5 separate regions of the Homo sapiens genome follow, and all the other regions are linked to region 5. Evidence: promoter capture Hi-C in human tissues and cell types (Jung and others, 2019). All regions are on one chromosome and are shown on one strand. Each heading gives the region's core, a stretch centred on a gene start or on the middle of the fragment in contact. The rest is flanking DNA. Distances are from core to core; before and after follow the strand shown. Region 1 overlaps CRTC3 (CREB regulated transcription coactivator 3). Region 2 overlaps ARPIN-AP3S2 (ARPIN-AP3S2 readthrough). Region 3 overlaps CRTC3 (CREB regulated transcription coactivator 3). Region 4 overlaps CRTC3-AS1 (CRTC3 antisense RNA 1). Region 5 holds the start of TTLL13 (tubulin tyrosine ligase like 13).

The links. The method cuts DNA at HindIII sites, captures the fragments that hold promoters and counts their contacts. A contact is called where the count stands out against the background at its distance.
Region 1: a contact is called between a fragment that was not itself captured here and the fragment with the promoter of TTLL13 in region 5, in 1 of the 25 tissues and cell types used here (H1 embryonic stem cells).
Region 2: a fragment that was not itself captured here is called in contact with the fragment with the promoter of TTLL13 in region 5 in 1 of the 25 tissues and cell types used here (dorsolateral prefrontal cortex).
Region 3: a contact is called between a fragment that was not itself captured here and the fragment with the promoter of TTLL13 in region 5, in 1 of the 25 tissues and cell types used here (aorta).
Region 4: a fragment that was not itself captured here is called in contact with the fragment with the promoter of TTLL13 in region 5 in 1 of the 25 tissues and cell types used here (pancreas).

The regions. Positions count from the first base shown.
Region 1 is chr15:90,581,492-90,584,191 of GRCh38, reverse strand. The region is part of intron 2 of CRTC3 (CREB regulated transcription coactivator 3); the gene reads right to left. Among named protein-coding and RNA genes, the nearest start is that of CRTC3, 53 kb to the right of the region's middle. RefSeq lists enhancers at 1-355, 356-867. The HindIII fragment of the contact is 4,580 bases long and covers 1-2,700 here.
Region 2 is chr15:89,871,090-89,873,789 of GRCh38, reverse strand. ARPIN-AP3S2 (ARPIN-AP3S2 readthrough) reads left to right here. Exons shown (of 10, transcript NM_001199058.2): 8 at 2,244-2,315. AP3S2 (adaptor related protein complex 3 subunit sigma 2) reads left to right here. Exons shown (of 6, transcript NM_005829.5): 4 at 2,244-2,315. Among named protein-coding and RNA genes, the nearest start is that of MIR5009, 12 kb to the left of the region's middle. The HindIII fragment of the contact is 7,631 bases long and covers 1-2,700 here.
Region 3 is chr15:90,599,791-90,602,490 of GRCh38, reverse strand. CRTC3 (CREB regulated transcription coactivator 3) reads right to left here. Exons shown (of 15, transcript NM_022769.5): 4 at 106-167. LOC124903554 (a long non-coding RNA gene) reads right to left here. Exons shown (of 2, transcript XR_007064756.1): 2 at 1,686-2,183. Among named protein-coding and RNA genes, the nearest start is that of LINC01585, 59 kb to the left of the region's middle. The HindIII fragment of the contact is 8,040 bases long and covers 1-2,700 here.
Region 4 is chr15:90,672,199-90,674,898 of GRCh38, reverse strand. All of the region lies in intron 2 of CRTC3-AS1 (CRTC3 antisense RNA 1), which reads left to right. Among named protein-coding and RNA genes, the nearest start is that of LINC01585, 13 kb to the right of the region's middle. The HindIII fragment of the contact is 6,170 bases long and covers 1-2,700 here.
Region 5 is chr15:90,248,181-90,250,880 of GRCh38, reverse strand. TTLL13 (tubulin tyrosine ligase like 13) reads right to left here and starts at 1,325. Exons shown (of 15, transcript NM_001396017.1): 1 at 1,073-1,325; 2 at 1-261. The coding sequence starts at 250. It also overlaps a transcript of CIB1 not described here. The HindIII fragment of the contact is 10,980 bases long and covers 1-2,700 here.

The sequences.
Region 1 (2,700 bases), core at 113-2,612, 330 kb before region 5:
GTTCCTGAAGCTTGCAGGGCTCTTTATTTATATGCAGACTGAAGCTAATGGAAGATGTTATAGCCCCCCTCTTTTAAAAAGGACAAGTCTAAATAACAAAGGAACAACTGTGCCTCTCTTGGGAACCCAGCTGGAGATCATTCTAGGCACTGCCAGCACCTCCTTTGATTCTCATGACAAGTGGGGGAGTCGTGAAGGCCTGTCCACAACAAAGGGGCTGCTATTAATTCACACTGCCTTGGGGTTAAATGGATCATTTAAGTCTACCTTACAAACTAAGCGGAATAAAAAAGGATGTCATACTTGGTTAAATACCCTATTATAACATCATTCAAAAAAAAAAGAAAAGAGAAACTTCAAGAGAAGTTCAAAATGTATAACAAATCTCCAGCGTCAGACCTGCCAGCACCCAGCCAGCCTCTCTGACAGCAGCCCCCAACACTCTTCCTTTGCCCTCTGCAGTGCTTAGGTATGCCAGCAGGCAGGGGCTTCAGTTCACAAAACTCCTGTGAGGCTCCCAGCTGTTCTGGGTTTTGGAAGGCTTTTCCCCCAGCAGCCTGCCAGCACTACACTATCTTTGGGGCTAGTCTATTCCAGTCTCGCAGAAGTGATTAGACTTTCAGAGCCCTTGAACCACCTAGATGGGTTTTTTGTTTGTTTTTAACCTGGAGGCTATGCCTTTTTTGACCAGCTGATCTGGGGATCCAATCTTCTCCAAAGGACCAAATAAGTCTTGCTGTGAGGCATGAAAAGAAGAGATGAAGAGCAGAACAGACCAGAGAAGGCACCAGCACCCAACCTGCTGATTTAGGACCTGGCCTATCACCATGTCTGTGGCCCTTGTGTTGCCCCTTCCTAGTCTGTATTTTTAAATGAAAGATAAAAGGGAAGTAAAGTTAACAGATAAACTAAGTTAAAAGGTGACTCCAGAAAATGATAGAGATAAAACAGTTTTGGGGTTGTTTTGTTTTTAGCAGGTAAAGTCAAAATCAGACCAATCAAAATGATCACAGAGGGCCAGGCAAAATAATTTCTCAAAATAAGAAATAATGGCTGGGTGTGGTGGTGGCTCACACGTGTAATCCCAGCACTTTGGGAGGCCGAGGTGGGAGGATCGCTTGAGCTCAAGAATAGGAGGCCAGCCTGGGCAACATAATGAGACCCCATCTCTAAAAAAAAAGAAGAAGAAATAACGACAATGCATAAAACACGCCCAGAGTTCATGCTGGGGGATCCTGCTCAAGAAAAGGCAGAGAATAAGGTCTATGTCTCAGGCAGAGCTTCTCACCTGGAGAAGATGGATCATGTTCATTCCCTGACCCTGATGGAGCAGGCTGTAAGCAGTGAGACCTCCCCCAGCATCTTCCCTCCAGCATTTGCACAGCGTCAGCCACACAGTGGGCTCCAACACGTGTTTGCTGAATTACATAATGTTTCTAAATGATTTGGCTCCAAAGAGGAATGTGTACCCCCAGGGGATTTACAGGATGGCATAGGGTATGGGGAAAACATTAGAAGTTCTGTTTCCACTTAGCTTTCTATTTTTTTGTATACTTAATATTAACAATACAGTGTTATATGTACATAATTTAAAAAACAAAGAACATACCCAAATTGGGGATATAAAACTCTTTTTACTACTAGGCTGCATAATCAAAAAGTTTAAATGCAAAGTGTTGATCGTTATTAAAAACTGGTGAGGGCTATATGGGAGCTTCTTATTCTACTCCTACTTTTCTGTACAGCTACAAATTTCCACGATAAAATGAAGAATTTCAGCTTCAAGTTCTCAGGGATGGCATAGCAGGGTGAATGCAGACCCAAGCCTCTAAAGGCACTTTACTGTCTTTCCACAGAGCGCCACCCAAGCCTCCACAGAAGTAGAAGTTTTAAACTGCCTGTTCCCATCCCCACCTCCCCACCTGGTGTGATATCTTTGGGTGGTGAGGGAGGCCTTCCGTTGAGTGTAGTTCTCCTTTTAACTTTAATGCTAATAAGACAATGACTAGAGAAATATGTTCTGGGTAAATCAGGTTTGCCCATTTATCTCCTCCAGAGGAAGCTGATTTGCTTCTTATGGTGATAGAAAGGAACTGCAGAAGGGAAGAACTGGCTTTTGATCAACTAAGACTTGAGCAGTGGCAGGAGTCCGGCCTAGTGGCTGGTAAGGCAACTGGCCAAAGGCACCCTTGGAGGCCACAAGGGTCAGGTAGGCACTTCAGGCCAAGCAGGAAAGGAGACAAAGTGCCTGAGCCTCTGTTCATCCCACACCAACCTCTTCCTGCCGTAGGAAATATATGTAAAAGACAGGCACCTGTCAGCCTGCCGACTCCCTCCTTTCACCCCCACTGCATTCTGAATCACACCAGATCCACCGCTGTGATTCAACTTGGTAGGACACTTCACTGAGTTTAGAAGAGATTGTAATTTGGAATTAAAAGAGAAAAAACAAAGGGGAGGGGACAGATGAAACAAGAGTGGCAAAATGTTGAAAAATATTGAATCTGGTGATGAGTCTATGGGGGTTCTTTATTCTACTTTGGGGAAGATTTTACATTTCCAAATAACAAGTTTGATTTTTTAATTAAAGTTATGATACTGTCATAAATTAAAGGTGCCTTTTCAGTTTTAACTCAATAACTTCTACATATATGCCAAAAAAAGAGATGAAGGCTGTGTTTTCTACCATACAGCCAGCCA
Region 2 (2,700 bases), core at 83-2,582, 380 kb after region 5:
GCTAAATGGGTGCTAAACAAAAACACTCACAGCCTTGTTGCTCACACAAAATGAACAAAATGGTCTCTTAGAAATAAAAAATGAGAGGAAATGGAAACAAACAAAAACCCACTTCAACTGAAGTATTAGAAAATCAAGTTAATCAATTGTCTCAGAATGGGCAGAGATGGAAAATGGGAGAGAAAAGATGAGAAAATAAGACAGAGGCCGGGCACAGTGGCTCACGTCTGTAACCCCAGCACTTTGGTAGGCCAAGACAGGGGGATCACTTAAGGTCAGGAATTGGATATCAGCCTGGCCAACATGGTGAAACCTCGTCTCTACTAAAAATACAAAAATTAGCCAGGCGTGGTGGTGCATGCCTGTAATCCCAGCTACTCAGGAGGCTGAGGCAGGAGAATTGCTTGAACCCAGGAGGCAGAGGCTGCAGTGAGCCAAGATCGTGGCACTGCACTTCAGCGTGGACAACAGAGCGAGAGTCTGTCTCAAAAAAAAAAAAAAAAGAAGACAGACAGAGGTCCAATACTTGAATATAAGCAGCTCCAAAAAGATTGATTAGGAATGTGGAAAGGAGGGAATTCTCAACAAAATAATTCGATAAAATTTCCCAGAACTGAAGGACTTGAACTGCAGGATTATAAGGGCTTACCAAGTACCCAGCATAGTGATTGAGAAATAGACCCATTTAACTATGTGTCCTTATAGTGAAATATTCTGGCACTGTTAAAAATGTAAAGATTTATGAATGGCACTAATATGAAATTATTGTATGTGGTTTTTGGCATACATGTATATATCTGTTAGATATGTTATCTGGGAGTAGAATTCCTAGATCATAGAGCATGCATACATAATGTCATAGTTTTCCAAAATGGTTGGTATCTGGCAAAATACAGTGCACTGGTTACCAGTCTCAAGAAAGGAATCTAAATGCTCTTGCCCATTGCATCTTGGTATCAGAGTCGGCAAGGAAAAAGTGCAAACACTGGATAAAGCTTTACTTACATAGAGAAGAGACAGAGCAGGATCAGCTCCAATAGTGTGCGTTGGTTCCTCATGGCAAGTGGGTCTGTCTCCCCAGCAGCCGCTGCAGGGTGGTTTGCCTATGAGCACCCATCTTGTGCTACAGTGGAACGGTGTGCCTGGTCTCTGTCACTTGCTGGCCTCAAGTAAGACCCATTTTCATGCAGTGCCGAACAATTCATGACACTGCTGACAATGAGATTGTTTAAATGAGGTCATTGTCTGAGAGAAATTAAACAGTTATAGATAGATACCTAGGTTGTAGTTACATGGTGTGTTCATTCTGAAAATTCATTAAACTGTGCCCTTGTCATTTGTACACTTTTCTGTTATGTTTTATTAAAAGTTAAAAGGTTCTATAGAGAAGTAAGCTCAGGGCTTTTAAAAAAAAATTTTAAGTTGTAAACACGTCAATTAAATTTATTCATAGGAAGGTATTTTGTAGGCTAAATAACTGACCAAAAAAATTAAAAAGGGAAGATGTTTTGAAGTTAATTTTGGCTGAAATTAAAACACAGCTATGTTAACCCTGTAATAATGAAAAATTTTTTGTACATGTATTCATTGAGGACATAGTATTGTAAGTAGTTGGTTTTTTTAATTTGTTATTCTTTTATGTAATTTTTTTTCTTTTTTCTTTTTTTTTTTTTGAGAGACTCTCACTCTGTCACTCAGGCTGGAGTGCAGTGGTGCGATCTCTGCTTATGGCAACCTCCACCTCAAATGATTCTCATTCAAGCTATTCTCGTGCCTCAGCCTCCCAAGTAGCTGGGACTATAACAGGCTCGTGTCGCCACACCCAGATAATTTTTGTATTTTTAGTAGAGATGGGTTTTCGTCTTGTTAGCAAGGCTGGTCGTGAGCTCTTGGCCTCAAGTGATCCTCCTGCCTTGGGCTCTCAAAGTGCTGAGATTGTAAGTATGAGCCACCATGCCCTACCATAAATTAGCATCTTATAAAGGGGGAAAGAGCCACATGTGTCTGCTGGTTGTGTTGCTATGCTGAAAACAAGGTTTTCCTGTCCTAGATTATTCCCTCTAAATCGAGATAAGTAGGGTGATCAGCTAATGCTGGAGACAAAAGGTAGGTGTTTTAATTTTTGAGATTTATCATAAAGTAAATAGTATTGTGACAGCCCCTTTTACTTTCAGATGTGACATTGATAAAGCTGTGAATGTGTTCCTATTTCTCTTCTTTATCTATTTCTCCTTGTTTTCTAGGTTTTTGTGGAAACTCTGGATAAGTGTTTCGAAAATGTGTGTGAATTGGATTTGATCTTCCATATGGATAAGGTATATTCTCTTGCAGTTCTCTTCCAAACTAGGGTTACTAGAAAACCAAGAGCCTTGGGCATCTGTAGCCACCTCTACATCTTCATATTGTTTCTTGTTTTTTTTTACTCTTAAGATAGTCCTAGAACATGTTTTATTTAATAGATTTAATAGTTTGGGTTTTGTTTTGTTTTTGCTAAGATCTACTAACAGTTTTAACGTGCATAAGATTATTACTAGGCCTATATCGTGGTTCATCTGTTCACAGACTGATTTCTTGATATAGGAGAATGATGTCACTGGCTACTTGGCCAAAGGTGAGATAAATAGTTTTATGCTGATTATAAAATTAGTTTCCTAGTCATAGGCCAGTGACAATGAAACTTTGGAATAATCATGACGCAGG
Region 3 (2,700 bases), core at 129-2,628, 350 kb before region 5:
TATGCTTTATATTAGAAATTTCTAAACAACATTCAAAGTGGATAAAGTGAAATTATCTAAAAATAACACATGCCCATCATATCTTTTAAAGTATGTCTTGCTTACCTTGGCCAACTCTCATCCAGAGGCTGTGAGGAATAATTGGCTCCAAAAGCACTACCATCAAAGTAGAATTTTTAATAAAGGAAAAATAAAAATTAATGGAAAGATGAAGCAGAATTAACAAGGTGGACTCACAGAGAGTTAAACAACTGAGTTTTTGGTTCCTTATCCCTGTACCTGACAGCTCTTCCTTCATGCTTTCTCTTATCTCCCTCCTTGAGGACAAGTCTATTCTGCTGTCTTCTAACCGGTGTTTTCTTTGCATGATTTTTTGTGGGGTGTTTATTATTTTTTGCCTGTCCGGCAACTTTTGTTTTCAGGAACTGTCTCCACTCTTGCTCCAAACCTGGTAACACTGCCATTCCCTCTGTGCCACATGTGAGGGACCCAGGCCCAGGATTCTAGTCTAGGTACCTCACCCCCTGGAAACAGTGTTTGGCTCAGGGATCGGCTCACGACGCAAACAGAACCAAGGAGAGTGCTTTTGAGTGGAAAAAAAAGGAGTGCCCCAATAGGGCTGGTAAGCCCAAGGGCCGTCTGAACCTGGGGGTCTTCACCTTGGAGAAAGCCTGTCTGTTATGCCTGAAGTCATCTCAGAAGTGGTACCACAGAGGTAGGTCTCAATGACATTGTATGACCCCTTGGATCTAGCCCTTGGGCTTCCAGTGACATATGCCAATACATTTTCTTTTTTTAAGTTAAGGTGGGTTCCTGGTACTTATTTATTTTTTGAGACGGAGTTTCACTCTTTTTTTTGGCCCAGGCTGGAGTGCAATGGCGCAATCTCGGCTCACTGCAACCTCCACCTCCCAGGTTCAAGCAATTCTCCTGCCTCAGCCTCCCGAGTAGCTGGGATTACAGGCATGCGCCACCACACCCGGCTAATTTTGTATTTTTTTTAATTAGAGACAGGGTTTCTCCACGTTGGCCAGGCTGGTCTTGAACTCCTGACCTCAGGTGATCCACCCACCTCGGCCTCCCAAATTGCTGGGATTAGAGGTGTGAGCCACTGCGCCCGGCGGTTCCTGGTATTTATAACCAAAAAAGAGGCGCATTAGATGTGTGAAGAAAGGTAAACTTTCCAGTGTTGTTGGGGGCACTGTCTTATCAGTCTTGTGTTGTTCACTGGGTCTACCATGCCTTGGAGCATATTCTGGACGCACGGAGACACAAATGGGATGCTGCACTACACACCGAGCAGAGGGGCGCTGTTTTCATTCGTTTAGTTAATTGTTCCCACACAATAGCCTTCTGAAGACACTGTTAATCATATTATTCTGCTAAGAAATCTTCAATGATTTTGTTCAGCCTAAAAGGCAAAATCAAAACTTACTGGCTTAGTAATTGCGGTGATCCACAATTTGGGGACAATGGTCTCTTCTGCTCTTGTCTTCCCTCCAGCTTTCTGAGTTCCACAAACACAGCCTGTATTTTCCTGCCCCTCTGCCTTTGCTAAGGCCATTTCCCCTTTCTCACCTCCTATGTGGAAGGTTGCCTCCTTATCACTCACCCAAACCAAGCCCATTCCTTTTGTCTCCTGGATCACTGATTGGATTAAATATACATTCGGCAGTTACCAATAATACTTTTCATCCCAAACTTTTATTTCTTAAGGTGGAAATAATAAAGAAGATACAAACTACACATTAAGACAGAAATTTGAAAACAGATATCTAAGCACCTACTGTGTGCCAGGCCTGTGCTGAGTTCACACTTTATTTAACCTCAATCCTGAGAGGCAGATATTTTCCCCATTTTATAGCTGAAGAAACTGAGGCTCAGTTCTAGAAGAGCTGAGAAATCCAAGATCAGATAGCACGCCTGGTGGATCAGGGGTCAGACCCACAAATCACTGACACCAAAGCCTGAGAGCTCTCCGCTAAGCTATGCTGCCTCTCAGGAAACAGTGAACTATGCCAAATGCCCCCAGAAAATAGAAAATAGTACCTGGAGTGTTCTGGGAAGGATGGAGGCTATAAGAGAAGGTACCATCTGCTCGGGCTCAGGAGGAAACAGGAGCCTTGATGGAGTGGGGCCCTATCCTGCAGGCCTGGGCTGGGCAGCTCAAATAAATACAGAATCTGGAATTAGGAAAACGGAGGCTCTCATGAGTTCTTAGTGATTTGGTGGGAAATGTCTTCTTTGCCAGGAGAGGCATTAGGATTGCAAGTTTCATCTTCTATGTATTCGTTTTCTTTGACAAGTCTCATTATCTTATTTCTTAATTTGACCTTAAATCAATAAAATAAAACAGATAATTTCCAAAGAGAGACATTTCTTCAACATTCACTATTAGGCTTAAGGTACATGAAGTACAGATGAGGCAAGACCACAGTAGGAGGTAGGAGAGGAAAAGGTGATAAATAGTAAGGCCCGTGACAGACAAAACCTGTCAGTATTTCTGTTGGCAAAGCCATTAGGGAGGAAACACCGAGCCTCAGAACCTACGGTTATCTGCCTTTCTCTTTTCTGCAGATTTGATGAATCTCTGTTCAGAAACGCTTAATTTCAGGAAGTAGAAGTTTACCATTTTTCTCAGTACACTGCCATCTTTAAACTCAGTATCTCTGATCTCATAGTACTGATAATACAAATTAG
Region 4 (2,700 bases), core at 13-2,512, 420 kb before region 5:
ATAGTGCTGGGCAAAATTCACACCATCCTGTAGTGCAGAGCCCCCCTCTCCTTCCAGGGTAGCCATGAGATGAATAGTGACACCTTAGACTGGGCCCTTCACTGCTGCTGGACTCTTTTTGCAAATGGGGTCAGAGTCCTGGGAAATGCAGCCTTGGTGCAGAGAATAACGCTTGGGCATTTTGTGTGTATTCTCAGGTTGCAGATACCACAGACTCTGTCAAGAAGTGTGTTGGGGGCCAGGCGTGGTGACTCATGCCTGTAATCCCAGCACTTTGGGAGGCTGAGGTGGGAGAATTGCTTGATCCCAGAGGTCAAGTCTGTATAAGCCATGATCATGCCGGTACTCCAGCCTTGGAGACAGAGTGAGACCCTCTCTCAGAAGAAAAAAAAAAAGAAGTATGTTGAGGCTTCTCATTGCTCTGAAAAGGGAGTTCATGATAAACATGTTTGGGCTGGGGAAAAAAAAAAACAAGCACATAAACAAAATAAAAAACCCAACCCTTGTCCCTTGGTCTTTGAGTGACCAGTGATATTCCATCGCCGTGGAAGAAGAGAAGATGAATACTGGGGGAACACCCACAGTGCCTGTGACGCTTCCTACCAGCCTGCTCTACCTCCCTGGCCGGCTCTTTCTCCCTTCCTCCTACCAGCTTTTCTAAACCTTCTGTCAGCTCAGCATCCCTCCCATCCCTCTGCCATCACTAACCCCTCTCTTCCTATTGCACAGAACAAAGAGAATCCATCAGATGAGAGTTCCTTCAACTTCCTGATCTCTCCCTCCCAGCCCTCACCAGACACCCTGCTTGAATGCTCACCCCTTTCTCTCGAAGGCCAGTCCCTGCTCCTGGGCTCTCAATCCCACCCCTCCTATTGGCCTAGAACCGCAAAACCAGGTCTCTCCCACTGTCTCCAGACTCTCTGCCCACAGTGTGTCAGCATTTAAATATGCTCGTCTTTTCCATGAAAGGTGTTCCCTGGGGCCAGGCGCGGTGGCTCACACCTGTAATCCCTGCACTTTGGGAGGCCGAGGTGGGCGGATCTCTTGAGGTCAGGAGTTCGAGACCAGCCTGGCCAATGTGGTGAAACCCCATCTCTACTAACAATACAAAAATTAGGTGTGGTGGCACACGCCCGTAGTCCCAGTTACTAGGGAGTCTGAGGCGGGAGAATCGCTTGAACCCGCGAGGTGGAGGTTGCAGTGAGCTGAGATCATACCACTGCACTCCAGCTTTGGCGGCAGAGCAAGACTCTGAAGAAAGAGGGAGGGAGGGAAGGAAGGAAGGAGGGAAGGAAGGAAGGAGGGAAGGAAGGAAGGAAGGAAGGAAGGAAGGAAGGAAGGAAGGAAGGAAGGAAGGGCGGGCTCCCTGGACTCCATCTCCCCCTCCTGCCACCTGTCTCTCCGCTCTCCTTCGGCGTAAGCCAGGAAGCGCTCCCTTCTCTATGTCCACCACTTTTTCAGTTTCTTTAAAATAAGAAATGTGGTGGAAATGTCAAGACACCAAGAAACCTATACACCAGTCCTAAGGGTTCATTCTACTTTCCTTTTTCTCTCTACAACATCATACAGCCCTGGTTATTTCTACAGTGGCTTTAGTCCTCTCCTTTGGTGTACTTTACAAAAATATATCCAGGGAGAACTGGATTCTCCATCCTCTTGGGGAACCGACAGAGTATCCACAACCAGTCTATTTCAAAGGGAGGGGGTTGGGCTTGATGAGGTGGCTCACTCCTGTAATCCCAGCACTTTGGGAGGCTGAGGCGGGAAGATCCATTGAGCCCAGGAGTTCAAGACCAGCCTGGGGAACATGGCGAAATCCCATCTCTACAAAAAAATACACAAATTAGCCAGGTGTGATGGCGTGCACTTGTAGTCCCAGCTACTCAGGAGGCTGAGGAGGGAGGATCACCTAAGCCTGGGAGTTCGAGGTTGCAGGGAGTTAAGCCATGATCGTGCCACTGCGCTCCAGCCTGTCTGAGACACTGTCTCAACAAACAAGCAAACAAATGAAACAAAAGGAAGGAACCTGAACCTCTTTACATCTTCTTTTGGGAGCAGCGATAATCAGCAATGACGTGTTCCAATCATAATTCCATTTCCTCATTTAAGGCAGAACCCTCTCTGTTCAGTAATTGGCACAATTTGAGGACAAGAGTTATCCTAGGAACTTTCAGAAAAAGAACCCATATTAATTTTGTAACAAAGATGTAAAATGTGTCTTTGTGAGAAAGGGGCATACAGATTTTGGTGGGACTTTGAATCATACGCAGTCATAATTTGTTTTATCCTTTTTTCCAGAAAAATATGCAAAACAAAATAGCTGTGTGATGGTACTACAGGGTCTTTGGGCTTTTGGAGGAGAATATAACCAAAGGGCTCCCAGGACAGCGTCATGTTCAAGTGTCTAGAAAGTTTCATATGCACTCTGTGCTTTACTTTCTCATCACCTATTTTAGTCCATTCAGGTTGCTTTAGACTCCCATAGGCTTATAAACAACAGAAATGCACTTTCTCACATTCTGGAGTCTGGAATGAGATTGTGGTGCCAGCATGGTTGAGTTCTGGCAAGGGATGTCTTCTGGGTTGCAGATGGCCGAATTTTCTTTGTATCCTCATGTGATGGGGAGAGAGAGACAGAGTGAACTCTCTGGGGTCCTTTCATGGGGTAGTAATCTCACTGCTGGGGGCTCTTAGCTCATG
Region 5 (2,700 bases), core at 76-2,575:
TCCGCCTTCTCTTCCTCCTCCCAGCTTCTAAGTCGCCTGTGTCAACTGGGGCTATGACTTTCTTCGGAATTTTTGTGGCCATAATGGGTGAGGGAACCCCATTTTTTAATGCCTTATAGTCAGCTTTTAAGAGAGCCTGCTGTGAAGAGTTAGAGGGGTTGGTAACTCCCTCTTTAACACACTTCTCAGATTCCTTTTCCTCAACATAGTCTTCCTCTGATTCCATGGTCCTACAGGTACTCGGCTCCATTCTCTCAGATTCTGAGGGGTTGCGGGGTGGGAATGAAGTGTATATCAGACCTCAGACCTCCCTCAGGCCCTAGAAGGCCTGAAGGAATCCACCAGAACGACCTTCATGCTGTTATAAGGGAAAGTTGCTGCCCCTTCAGGACAAAACTGTTTCACTGAGGAATGGGATGTGTCCAGGTAGGTGGAGGTGCATGGGGGTGGAAGACACCAGTGAGATGTGGATTCCCTGATGACAAGCCCCAATCATCCAGGTTCACACTGGATCATACAACGCACAGGGGTGCCTTCAGGAGTTGGACACAGATGGTATGGGCCATGACCATGGCTCTTTTGTTCCTAATTGGGAAAGAGGATGGCTGTGAGTGCTGGGGGGACCTTCGCTTTAAAATACAGCTGAATCGGCCCAGCACGTTGGGAGGCTGAGGCGGGCAGATCACTTGAGGTCTGGAGTTGGAGAGCAGCCTGGCTAGCACGGTGAAATCCCGTCTCTCCTAAAAATACAAAAATTAGCTGGGTGTGCTGGTGCGTTGCCTGTAATCCCAGCTACTCGGGAGGCTGAGGGAGGAGAATCACTTGAACCTGGGAGGTGGAGGTTGCAGTGAGCCGAGATCACACCACTGCACTCCAGCCTGGGCGACAGAGCAAGAGTCTGTCTCTAAATAAATAAATAAATAAATAAATAAAATAAAATACAGCTGAAGACCAAAAGCCCCCTACGCTGGCCCTTTCCCTCTCCCAGGACTCATTTTCTGCACGTGTACACACTAGGGACAGGCACCCGATGGCTAAGACCCTTTGGGCTGTGACGGTGGAGACTGCCCACCCGTGGTTACGAGGAGAGCTGAGGGGCTGCTGGGTCCGCCCCTAGCCGCCTGGGGATGGACTCAGCTGGCCGCTCATGTCCCCTCTTCCCCCGGCTCCAGGTCTCCCTGGGCGTTTCTGGGCGTCCGGAACCGCCTCCTCGTTTCACAGGACTGGCTGTCCCCACGATCGCGAGGGGGAAGCTGCTCCCCCGCAGGGGTTCACTCCTAGCTCCCGGTGGCCGTGGCTGCGGCTGCCGGGGCAGCGCTTCCTCTAGCAAGCCCGTGGCCGCCGCCGTTGCCATGGACACGAGGGCAGTTCCCATTGGAGAAGCGTCCTGGGGGCGGGGCTTTCCCGCAGCCACACCCACTTGGGCGCGGGCCGAGGCTACCTTGGGTGGGGGAGACAGCGTTTGCCCTTTGGAGCTGGCCGGCCTCGACGCCAGATTCTTCCGGTGTATCATGGGACTTGCAGCCCTCCCGCTTCGAAGCCAGTTCTCGCCGCACTCCCATCTTTCCCTAAACCCCGGGCCAAGGAATTTGGCCAAGCATATAATGAGGACAAATAGCTGTTTGCCTCTCCTCAATTCTCCCTTTTTTTTTTTTTTTTTTTTTTTGAGACGGGGTCTTGCTGTGTCGCCCAGGCTGGAGTGCAGTGGAATGCACCATCATAGCTCACTGCAGCCTGGACCTCCTGGGCTCAAGCAATCCTCCTGCCTCAGCCTCCCCAGTAGCTGTGACTACAGGAGCGTGCCACCACGCCGGGCTCAATTCTTTAGTAACTCTAAGTTTAGCTAGCAAAGCCTATGCATTCAAGAGTGACAGCCATGGTAAGGCCACGTGCCTTTCAAGGCTTTGCCTCTGGTGGACTGAGACAGCTCCATTAAGGAATAACCAAACCGCCTTATCACAGTGCTCCTTCACTGTCACCTTCTCTTCCTGACATCCACCCACTTTGATTTCTGCTCACCACCTCCACCCAACTCAGCTCAACTTGTCACCCTAAAATTATACTGTGTGGCTAAATCTAGAGAACACTTAAAATGTTTCCATCCTTTTAAAAAGACATGGACTTTTTTTTTTTTTTTTTTTTTTTTTTTTTTTTTTTTTTTTGAGACAGGGTCTTGCTTTGTAGCCCAGGCTGGATTGCAGTGGTGTGATCGCAGCTCACTGCAACTTTACTTAGCTTCCCAGGCTCAAGCAATCCTCCCACTTCAGCGTCCCAAGTAGCTGGGGCTACAGGTGCGCACCACCATGCCTGGCTAATTTTTGTATTTTTTGTAGAGATGGGGTTTTGCTGTGTTGGCCAGGCTGATCTTGAACTCCTGACCTCAAGTGACCTGCCCACCTTGGCTTCCCAAAGTGGTGGGATTACAGGCATGAACCACTGAACTCGGCCTAAAAAAGGCATGGACATTCTCTAATTCATAGACTGTTTTTGTTGTTGTTAATTGTCTATAAAGATAAGCTATTTCTTTGCCCACATATTCATGTTTCATAGTTCAGGAACATAGGTTAGTGATAAACTTCTATGTAATGCAACCCAAAGAAACTGTTTATACCAAAATCACTTTGCACTTTGAAAGATACCAGCCTTCCTCATCTCCTCAAAATCTTTCATAGAATCAGCAAGGCTAGGTGGCAGGCCCTG